Linked DNA regions of Homo sapiens: region 2 is linked to region 1. The links are contacts of gene promoters, found by promoter capture Hi-C in blood cells and fetal thymus (Javierre and others, 2016). All regions are on one chromosome and are shown on one strand. The core of a region is centred on a gene start or on the middle of the fragment in contact, and the rest is flanking DNA. Distances in the headings are between cores, read along the strand shown. Region 1 holds the start of LAGE3 (L antigen family member 3). Region 2 overlaps HCFC1 (host cell factor C1).

Region 1 (5,278 bases), core at 1,398-3,897:
GATTTTTTTTTTTTTTTGTGAGACGGAGCCTCACTCTGTCACCCAGGCTGGAGTGCAATGGCGTGGTCTCGGCTCACTGCAATCTCTGCCTCCTGGGTTCAAGAGATTCTCCCGCCTCAGCCTCCTGAGTAGCTGAGACTACAGATGCATGCCACCACAGCCGGCTAATTTTTTTTGTACTTTTAGTAGAGATGGGATTTCACTGTGTTGGCCAGGCTGGTCTCAAACTCCTGACCTCGCAATCCACTCGCCTCGGCCTCCCAAAGTGCTGGAATTACAGGCGTGAGCCACTACACCTGGCCATCCTGAATCAATTATTAAGTTAATAACAATTAATTATTACATTGGTGGTTGCAAAGATGGTAATTTTCTGATAGTTTTTTCTACAGCTATTACTTGCCATTTCCCTATAAAAACCTTTCCTTTATCTCTGCTTTCTTTCCTGAATATCATGGACTTTTTTGTTTGTTTGTTTGATTGAGACAGAGTCTCAGTCTGTTACTTGTGCAGAGTGCAGTGGCTAGATCATAGCTCACTGTAGCCTTGACTTCCTGGGCTCAAGCAATCCTCCTGCGTCAGCCTCTCTGGTAGCTGGGACCGCAGGCACACACTGTCACAGCCGGCTAATTTTTTTTTTTTTTTTTTTGAGACAGAGTTTTGCTCTTGTTGCCCAGGCTGGAGTGCAATGGTGCGATCTGGGCTCACCACAACCTCCACCTCCCGGGTTCAAGCCATTCTCCTGTCTCAGCCTCCCAAATAGCTGGGATAACAAGCTCCTGCCACCACAACTGGCTAATTTTTGTATTTTTAGTAGAGATGGGGTTTCACCATGTTGGTCAGGCTGGTCTGGAACTCCTGACCTCAAGTGATCTGCCTGCCTTGGCCTCCCAAAGTGCTGGGATTACAGGCATGAGCCACTGCGCCCAGCCCCATGCAATTTAAATTAGAAATTAAAAAGTCATTCTGCGGTGTGGTGAATAGGTTGTAGAGGGGAAAGTGTAAAAGAGAATCAGCCAGGAAGCTGTTGAGGGAGGTCAAGGAAAGATGCTGGCTTCCACAGCAGACTAGCAGTGGAGAGCGAGAAGTGGGCTGATGTGGAACCTATTTCAGAGGGAAACCCAACAGGATTTGCTGATATAGTTCAGTGTTTAATCCTTCCTTATGACTGCAAAGGAGGAAAATAGGTTGTCCAAACATGACAAACACTGTTGGAAATTTTATGTCACTTTATTTATTCATTTTTTATTTTTATTATTTTTCTTTTTGAGACAGTCTCCCTCTGTCGCCCAGGCTGGAGTGCAGTGGCGTGATGTCGGCTCACCACAACCTCCACCTCCCGGGTTCAAGTGATTCTTCTGTCCCAGCCTCCCGAATAGCTGGGACTACAGGCGCACACCACGACACGCAGCTAATTTTTGTTATTTTTAGTAGGGCCGGGGGTTTCACCATGTTGGCCAGGATGGTGTTGAACTCCTGACTTCAAGTGATCCACCCGCCTCGGCCTCCCAAAGTACTGGGATTATAGGCGTGAGCCACCGTGCCCGGACTGATGTCACTTTAAATACTTTTTTTTTTATTGTAAATGTCATAAAAGACCACTTCGGAAAAATTGGAGGGAAAACACAAAAAGGAAATTAAAGTCACCCACCATACTATTAGCAGAGATCATGAGGATTTACCTGACGCTGTATTGTTCTAGGATTTCTCTACATATGTACAGTAAGAGACTAAGTTGGCATTTTCTTTTATTTTTTGAGGCGGGGTCTGGCTCTATCAACCAGGCTGGAGTGCGGTGGGGCGATCACGGCTAACTGCAGCCTCTGCCTCCCGGGCTCAGGCTGTCCTCCCATCTCAGCCTCCCTAGTAGCTGGGACCACAGGTGTGCACCATCACACCCAGCTAATTTTTGTATTTTTTGTAGAGGCAGGGTTTCACTATGTTGCCCAGGCTGGTGTCGAACTCCCGGGCTCAAGCAATCAACCCTCCTCAGCCTCCAAGAAGCTATGACTACAGGCACGCTCCACCACTCCCAGCTAACTTTTAAAATTTATTTTTGTATTTTTTGTAGAGACGGGGTCTCACTATGTTGCCTGTGTTTGTCTTGAACTCCTGGGCTCAAGTGATCCTCCTCCCTTGGCCTTCCAAAGTGCTGGGATTCCAAGCGGGGGCCACTTTGCCTGGCCTAAACTGGCATTTTCATACTCATAGTTGTGCAGTCTGATTTTTCACGTTATATTAGACCTAGACCCACCGCCAGTACTTTCATTCAAGGCCCTGTCATTTTTCGCCTCCGTGCAGGCCTCCTGCTGACAGGCTCCCCCGCTCTGCACAGCCCACCCGCTCTAAAATGCTTCCTCTAAAATGCACATCCGATGCTTCACAGTCCATGGTGAAGCCCCGTTGGTTGGGCACTGGGGTTGAGGGCAAGAGCAGTATCCTTGGGGGTTACCCGACCCGGCCACCCTCCCTCTGCGAATCGCAACATGGACGTTGTGCCACATCTCCTGGGGCTCTTGGGTCCAGGTAAGAAACGGGGCGGGAAGCCGTCCAGGCACCGCAGGGCCTCACTGGGGCCTCCAGGGACAAGGGGGAAGGCCCCGCCAGCGCAGGCGCGCTAAGGTCACAAGGCGCGCTTAGGGGCGGAGCCTCGCGGGGTGCGCCTCTGGGATAGGCGACCACGGTGTCTTCAAAAGCCCCGTCAGGGTTGGCTTCCTGGGGCCGGACCGACTGTGGGTCAGTTTGCACCAGCGCTCTGGAATCGAGTTACGCGCGAAAGGGCAGAGTTTCTGGAGGAAACCGCAGCCTCTCAACCGCTGACCGGGTCTCAGAAGGCCCCCGGCAGGGCCGCTTGGCGGGAACTGACCACGCGCCAGTCAGGCTCTCCAGGGACCTGCGCAGGCGCGTGTGGGCGGAGTCGTGCGCAGGGGGCGGGGCTTCGGGAAGGAGCCACAGAGAGGGCGGGGCGTAGGACCTGCGCTTCGGGGGTGGAGTCGGAGCGGCGCGGCGGCGGTCATGCGGGACGCGGATGCAGACGCAGGCGGAGGCGCTGACGGCGGGGATGGCCGGGGTGGCCACAGCTGCCGCGGGGGCGTGGACACAGCCGCAGCTCCGGCCGGTGGAGCTCCCCCAGCGCACGCGCCAGGTCCGGGCAGAGACGCCGCGTCTGCGGCCAGGGGGTCACGAATGCGGCCGCACATATTGTATCCTTTCCGAGCTGGGGGCTGCTTGCGGCGGAGCGAGGGCTGGACTCGGGGAGAAGGAAAGGAGGGCGGGCGGGGGGCCGACGGAAAGGGTAGCAGGGGGGGACCGGGGCTGGCGTATACGGTCAGAGGTGGTCGGAGGAGGGGAAGACATTGAAATGGAGGGAGAAGCTCTGCTAACGGTGGCCTGGGCGAGGTAAGGAGTGAAGGGGGTGACACTAGGCAGGGTGACCTGAGAGGGGGCTTCAGAGGAGCAAGAAGGCCTGAGACATAGGCAAGATCGTATCAGATGGCACCTTAACCGAATGACCCCCAGCACCCTCAGCGTGCCTTTCCCGACCCCCTTGGAGGCGGAAATCGCCCATGGGTCCCTGGCACCAGATGCCGAGCCCCACCAAAGGGTGGTTGGGAAGGATCTCACAGTGAGTGGCAGGATCCTGGTCGTGTAAGTTCTGAAAGGGACGGGGTTGGGGGAGGCGGCCCATGGAGACATGGGGGACATCCAAGGATGAGCCCTAAGGAGCGCCAGGTGCGCTGGGCCGGTCTCTGCCTGAGGGGCTGTGTAATGGCAGGGCTCCCAAGGGTTTGCTATATTGGGTGCCTGAGGGGCAGAGCGAGGGACCAGGAGTTGCCACCTCCAATTTGATTTTCTTTTCCCCTCACTTTTAGCCGCTGGAAAGCTGAAGACTGTCGCCTGCTCCGAATTTCCGTCATCAACTTTCTTGACCAGCTTTCCCTGGTGGTGCGGACCATGCAGCGCTTTGGGCCCCCCGTTTCCCGCTAAGCCTGGCCTGGGCAAATGGAGCGAGGTCCCACTTTGCGTCTCCTTGTAGGCAGTGCGTCCATCCTTCCCTAGGGCAGGAATTCCCACAGTTGCTACTTTCCTGGGAGGGCCTCATGTTTTATCTGGTTCTTAAATGTTTGTTACTACAGAAAATAAAACTGCGCTACTATTCCAAGTCTGAGTTTATTTGCAGCTGGGGCACCTCCCAATATTCTTGTTGTGCTTGGGTTGCTGGGGGGGGGGTTCTAGAATTCAGATATTCAAGGAGTACAAGGAAATTGAAGACAATTTAGGAAATGGAAGAAAATGAAAATCAATTGGGTTCTGTCATTCAGGATTAACTACTGTCAACATTTTGGAATACTTCCTCAGTTTTACAGTTGCACTTACATAGTAAATGTGTAACTGTAATATACACCACATAATATTTGCAAGTTTAGTGTTAAATTTTTTTCCTGATTTTTAAATCTAACATGAGCTTTTTTCCTCTAACGATCAGTGAAGAAAGTGCTGGGGCAATTGACTAGTGTCTGGGGCAAGGAGTTGGCTCCCTGGAAAATACAGTGTCTCCAGCCTTAGGGCTCTTTTATAGATTCTATCAGATTTTCTGAGAGTGAAAAGGAAGAGGTACAACTGCTTTTATTCTCAGAAAACAAGGAAATGGTTTGATCCTTTTGAGTCTTGCTTTGAAGATGTGCTGTGTGGGACCAGAGCAGCTCTTAACTGTAGGCTTGTTTCCCTCTATGGAGGCAACAAACACCATTCTGGGCACCCTGGCCAGTGCTGCCTAGGTGAACATGAGCTTCTCTATCCTGGTGGGTGGGGACAGCTGCTAGTCCCTGTCCTGCTTGCACACTGGAGTTACCGTTCATCCTCTCCTGCTGGGGTGATGGCCTTCCCTGGTCTTGGGTAGCTTCCTCACACGCCTGTGCTCACCAGTAGTCGTAGTCCGCTGCACACTGGAACGGGAGCCTCTGTGGATATCCAGGGTTCTTTCCCTGTGCAGCTCTCTTCTCTCTGGTTCTCCGCCCTGCAAACTCCAGCTGCTGGGACGCTCTGAATCAGTTTCAACTCCTAAAGTCCGGGTGTCTGCCAGGCTCCACCAGGAAACTCCACACAGGACACTGGGCCAGTCGCATGGCTTACCTTGTTTCCCAGCTCCCACACGTCGCTGTCCCTCACTGGCCCACAGCCAGTTTTTTAATACTCTGCATTCCATATATTTTGTCTGGTTTGGCGTGTTCTTTCATTTGGCATGACATATCCAGTCCCTATTACTCCATATGGAGGAACA
Region 2 (5,278 bases), core at 2,476-4,975, 510 kb after region 1:
TCATAAGGCCTGGAGCAGGCTCCCTGGCAGGGAAATGCAATTTTAGAAAGTAGGGCAGGGGCCTAATTACAGTCGGCTCCAGAGTCCACCACCACTGCTGCCTTGGCTTCCTGGGGCCTCTGCATATTCATTAGTTTATTAAAATGAATTGACCACTTTGGCATGAATTCATTACCAGTCTGCAAAGACAGGTTGTGCATTAGAGGGGTAGCCTGCCTTCCAAAGGGCTGCTTAAAATGAAGCTCTGGGATCCTCCAGGGTAGCAGTTTGGAAACTGTCATCGGCAATTCCTCAGACGAGAGAGCAGCTGGCAGACCTGAAGCCCTCTTCCTCACCGGGGTTTCTGCCCCCTCCCGCCAGCCCGGCCTCGTCACCTTTGTCTTGTCTTCTTTTGTTGTGTTTGGGATGAGATCAGGGCATATTCTCACGCCTGTGCCCCTTGCAGTTCTGCGGGATCAGTCCTCAAAAAGCCTTGTACCTTTGGAGAGAGCTGATCTGGAAGGGGTTCCCGTTGCTAGGATAAGAAAGCTTCAGGGGGTGTGTGCTTTGAGAGCTCTTAGGGTAGCTACTGTGCTTGTCCTTAGGGAATTTTAGTTCCATGTGGCAAGCCAAAGGATTCAGAGTGCTGCCAGGTGTGGGGGGTGGGGGAGCGAGAGCTTTGGCTACGGTGGCTCTGTAATGTCCATAGGTTCTTGGAGCTGGAGGGAGCCTTGGAAAATACCTAGTGGAACTACTTCCTTGTTTCTGCAGATGAGGAAATTGGGGTCCAAGAGGGGAAGTGACAGGTCCAGGGTCGCCCTCCCAGCTGGTGGCGGAGTTGGGCGGGAGTGCAAACCTTCATAGAGGCCGTTCTGCCACCTGTCTTTGGGGCCCATCACCTTTGAAATGCCTCCATTCTCTCCTCTGTCCCTGTATCTAATTGTTCATTGCGTTGGGCAGGCATCAAATGTGTCCCCTTCCACACCAAGCCCTCCTCTCCTCTTACTAGACTCTTGCAGTCACTTCCTGATTGGCCCTGCTAGTTTCATTTGTCGGGAAATCCTGTTCACCCTTCAAGGCCCGGCTGAAACGTCACCTCTTCTGAGAAGCCCTTTCCACTCCTGTCCTCCCCTCTCCAGCAGTCGCACTGCTCTGTGCTCCCAAGGGCCCGGCTTGGTCAGAGCTCTTCTAGGGTGTTTGTCTCATCGTGGGAGGGGGGCATGCAGCCTTCCTACCCCATTGGGAGTATGAGCACAAGATCGGTGTCCTCTGTGCCTCCCAGCACGTCGTATGCCACACAGGAAATGCTCTAATGTGACAGGTAGAACAGAGAGGAAGGCAGCTCGTTGAACTTGACCGGCCACCTCACTGCATGGGCACCAGTCTCTAGGTGGTGATGGGACAGTGGCAACCAGGGATGGAGCTTGCAGAGCATGAAGTGGTTGGGGGAGCTGATGAAACACAGAGAGGCCGGGGCACAGCCTTGCTCAGGAGAGGGGAGCTGGAGTGGTCTTCATCTAGTGCAGGGTCCTTTCCCCACCTTCCCCTCCCAGCTGAGAGCCAGCATTTCCAGGATGAGGGGCCCAAGGATTGGGTTACATGACACCCCCCAGATGATTCAGGGGTGACTGAGAGCAGCTGTCACATTGAAAAGCTGGGAGAAGGGAGGAGAGCTTGCTCGTGTGCTTTCAGGGGGCGGAACCAGGACTCGTGGGTGAGATGAGGAGCCGCAGGTTTGTCGTCACACCAGGAGCTGTGCTCCCTGACAGACCTCTCTTGACGGGGGTGGGGAGGGCCCCTGCCCTGCCTGGAGTGTTCTAGAATGAGATCAGCACCTCTTGGGTCCTGTAGAAGGATCTGGTGAGCGGGATCCCCAAAGATATCACAGGGCGCTTCTGGCCTGGCCCACCGGCTCACTGATCAGCGTGTGATAGGAAAGCTGCCCACTGACCCCACGTGCCATTTAGCTTTGTCCCAAACTCTGACCCGCAGCCCCATAGCTGTGGGCTTTGACCACGAGGGTGCTCAGGGGAGTGAGGGTGGCTGCCTGGACATGGGACCCTAGGGAAGGCACAGATCGGTTGCTTCAAGTCAGTGATGGGGCTGTTGTCTCTGTCTCTGTTTTACGCTGTGACCTCAGGTGTCGCTTGCCCTCCTGGGCTCTGCCCCTTTACCTACCGAGAGCAGTTGGCCCAGGCAGCCTTAGGTCTCGTTATGCGTTTACCCTGGTAGCTTGCATGGAGCTCCCTCCAGGGATTGGTCAGGACGGCTCTCCAGTGCGCAAGGCTGTTGGCCTTGGCAGCTCTTGCTTTTCTGGGGTGGTTTTTGCACTGGGAATGAGAAAGAGGCAGAGGGCCAGGATCCGAGCTTGCACATGCGGGCGGCACAGGTGTTGTCCCTCTGCTTTAGGGAAATGGCAGGGGAGCTCTAGTGCTCGGCATGTCCGAGGCCCAGTGACTCAGCTGAATGGCTGCAGAGGCTGTCAGCCTGCTCGAAGCCTACCCGCAGAGTGGGTGCTGGAGAGCGGGGTGGGGGTGCTCTCGCCTCAGGAGGAGCGGTGGTGGTACAGTTGTGCTGTGTGGGGTTTTCTGTTTTTTTTGTTTGTTTGTTTGTTTTGAGGTTAGGTCTTGCTCTGTTGCCCAGGCCGGGATGCAGTGGTGCGGTCTCAGCTCACTGCAGCCTCAAACTCTGAGGGTCAGGCAGTCCTCCCGCCTCAGCCTCCTGAGTAGCTAGGACCACAAGTGTATGCCACCACACTGAGCCAGTGTTTTAAAATTATTTGTAGAGACGGGGTCTCCCTGTGCTACCCAGGCTGGGAGTTGTGCTTTGGATAAGGGCTAGCCTTGCACACGGTTCCGCATTGAGCCCTGGGGGTGACAGTGTGAGACTGGGTGGGACCAGAGTGCAGTGGGGCATGCATTCCCAACCATGGTCAGCCGCCTGGCCCTGGGTGCACACCTGAATATGGAAAAAAAACACTGTTTTTCCTCTTCTATGGTCTCACAACACTTTTGGCCACCAAACTGAATAGTCTGTATTATATCACAATATCACAGCATCCCTGTGTGGAAGCCTTCCCACCCCACAGGAATCCCCCCATGCCCTGTCACGTCCTGGGGGACCCATCTTGCGTCTTGAGTCATGTGGAGGGGCCTCAGTTCCTTCTGCCGTCTGCTTGCTGAGATCTCACCCAGGCCAGCTCAGAGGCACAGAGTCGGGGTTGCACCTGGCCCCCAGTTTGGGGTTTCTGGAAAGAGTGTGGTGAATCCTCTGAGGGACCCCTCATAGGAGGAGGTTTTCGGGGAAGCCCTGGCCTGCCAGGTGTGAGGGGAGTCAAGTTTGAGGACATGAGGGAGGGGCCTGGTCCCAGCTGAAGGCTGCTGTGCCATCCTGTGGAAGCAAAGCAGTGCCTAAGGTCTGATTTCCCTCTTTCTTGGTGGTCGCCTCACCCTCATGAGCTTTTGAGAAGCTTCTGTCACAGCTCTGCTGAGACTGCTGCCTCTGGCTTGCAAGAATGTTCTGGAGTACCATAGGTGTGGCAGCAGGGGCAGGGAGGGATGCTGGTGGACCATCACCTAGGAGACCAGAGGAAGTCCGGGAGGTCAGAGCAGAGGCCGGGTCTCATCCCCATGGCTCTTCGTAGCCTGCAGCGGTCACTGTTTTGGCCACTTGAAAGTGCTGCTCTGGGCTCTGGCTGTCCTGACCCTGTGATGAAGGGACAAAAATGTGGGCTCCAGGGAGGAGGAGCACAGGCCCACCAAGAGGGTATTTTGGGGAGAAATTCATGTCTGATCACTGAGTGCTAGGGAAGGAAGGCAGTGGCTAGATTCCCAGTAGCTGATGAGGGATCTTGCACAGTAACTTCCCGCTCATTAAGATGACCTTGGCGAGAAGCAGGGTGGTCACAGGCTCTTTTGCACTGGCCTGAAGTCGAGGGGTTTGGAAGATGGCCCAGGTAGCGCAGCTGGAGTTGCTAGAGCGCCCGCAGGGATGGTGCTGGCTCAGCCCCTCTCACCAAGCTTGACGGCTGGCACATTTGGGGAATGAGAGGAATGGGGGCTCCCGGGTGTTCTGACTTCTGCCTCCTTCTGTTCCCCAGCAACCAACCAGTGGTTCATCCCAGCCGTGAGGGGGGACATTCCCCCTGGGTGTGCAGCCTATGGCTTCGTGTGTGACGGGACTCGCCTCCTGGTGTTTGGTGGGATGGTGGAGTATGGGAAATACAGCAATGACCTCTACGAACTCCAGGTAAAGCAGCCCCAGGTTCTCACTCTGCCTCCTTGGCCCCATGTGACCTGACGGTAGTGGCTTCAGGGTTGAGGCAAGCGGGAGGTGGAAGGGACGCTTGAGAGTCTGCCAAGGCTGCTCTGAACTTGGCCCACCTCAGAAGAAGGCAGCAAGGACCAACACCCAGGACCTTCTTGCTCCAGCAAGGCACCTCGCTCACCCCCGGCCATTTCCTCCTCCACCACAAGTTGCCCCGGGTCCCTAGTGGTGGCCTTCTCATCCCACGGTTCAGTCTCCAGGTCTTGATTTTGCAGGCGAGCCGGTGGGAGTGGAAGAGACTCAAAGCAAAGACGCCCAAAAACGGGCCCCCTCCGTGTCCTCGACTCGGGCACAGCTTCTCCCTTGTGGGCAACAAATGCTACCTGTTTGGGGGTCTGGCCAATGATAGCGAGGACCCAAAGAACAACATTCCAAGGTGAGGCTTGGTCCTTTTCTCTGGAACCCCCCGGGTGGGTGTGCTCTCACATGCACAGGGCTCCATGGTGTCCTAAAGAATGTGCGCAGCAGAGCCCCGTGGCCGGGTCCCTTTCTCGTGCTGGGTTGTAAATGAGAGAGCGGCACCGGATGCCCTCTCAGGAGCTTTCGGGCTCCAAAATCGCTACTGACCCTGAGCAGGCCTCGTGGGAGGAGGGCCAAGCTGGAGGTGGAAGCCACTTTGCCTTGGGCTGGCCCAGCTCTCGGAGTCGGCTTAGAGCTGCTCGCGTTCCTTCTCAGCCTCCGCTGCCTACAAGTTTCCTGATGGGTATTTTCCAAGGCCCGTGGCCAAGGACTCTCTGTCTGGAGGTAGTCCCAAGCCAGCGCCCCCTCTTGCTCTGCGGAGCCCTCATATAATACCCAGCTTTGTGTGCATGGCGGGGGCCTGCTGCTGGGTCTGGACTCGGGGCTGCTGTGCAGCCTCACCCACCCTGTGTCCCCTGTTCCAGTTGGACTCATCCTAGGGAGCTTCTGGCAGCCCCTTCCTCAAGAGCTAGGGTAGAAGAACTTCAGAGCTCCCACAGCCCTAGCCCCTTTG

The links. The method cuts DNA at HindIII sites, captures the fragments that hold promoters and counts their contacts. A CHiCAGO score of 5 or more calls a contact.
Region 2: a contact is called between a fragment that was not itself captured here and the fragment with the promoter of LAGE3 in region 1, in 1 of 17 cell types (non-activated CD4 T cells). The highest score is 6.7, in non-activated CD4 T cells.

Annotation. Positions count from the first base shown.
Region 1 is chrX:154,476,650-154,481,927 of GRCh38, reverse strand. LAGE3 (L antigen family member 3) reads left to right here and starts at 2,647. Exons shown (of 3, transcript NM_006014.5): 1 at 2,647-3,200; 2 at 3,517-3,645; 3 at 3,870-4,153. The coding sequence starts at 3,013. The coding sequence ends at 3,984. PLXNA3 (plexin A3) reads right to left here. Exons shown (of 33, transcript NM_017514.5): 33 at 4,149-5,278. RefSeq lists an enhancer at 2,273-2,772 and a silencer at 3,034-3,253. The HindIII fragment of the contact is 14,076 bases long and covers 1-5,278 here.
Region 2 is chrX:153,963,527-153,968,804 of GRCh38, reverse strand. It overlaps HCFC1 (host cell factor C1), which reads left to right. Exons shown (of 26, transcript NM_005334.3): 2 at 4,079-4,227; 3 at 4,521-4,681. HCFC1-AS1 (HCFC1 antisense RNA 1) reads right to left here and starts at 40. Exons shown (of 3, transcript NR_046608.3): 1 at 1-40. RefSeq lists enhancers at 1,807-2,466, 2,467-3,125. The HindIII fragment of the contact is 550 bases long and covers 3,451-4,000 here.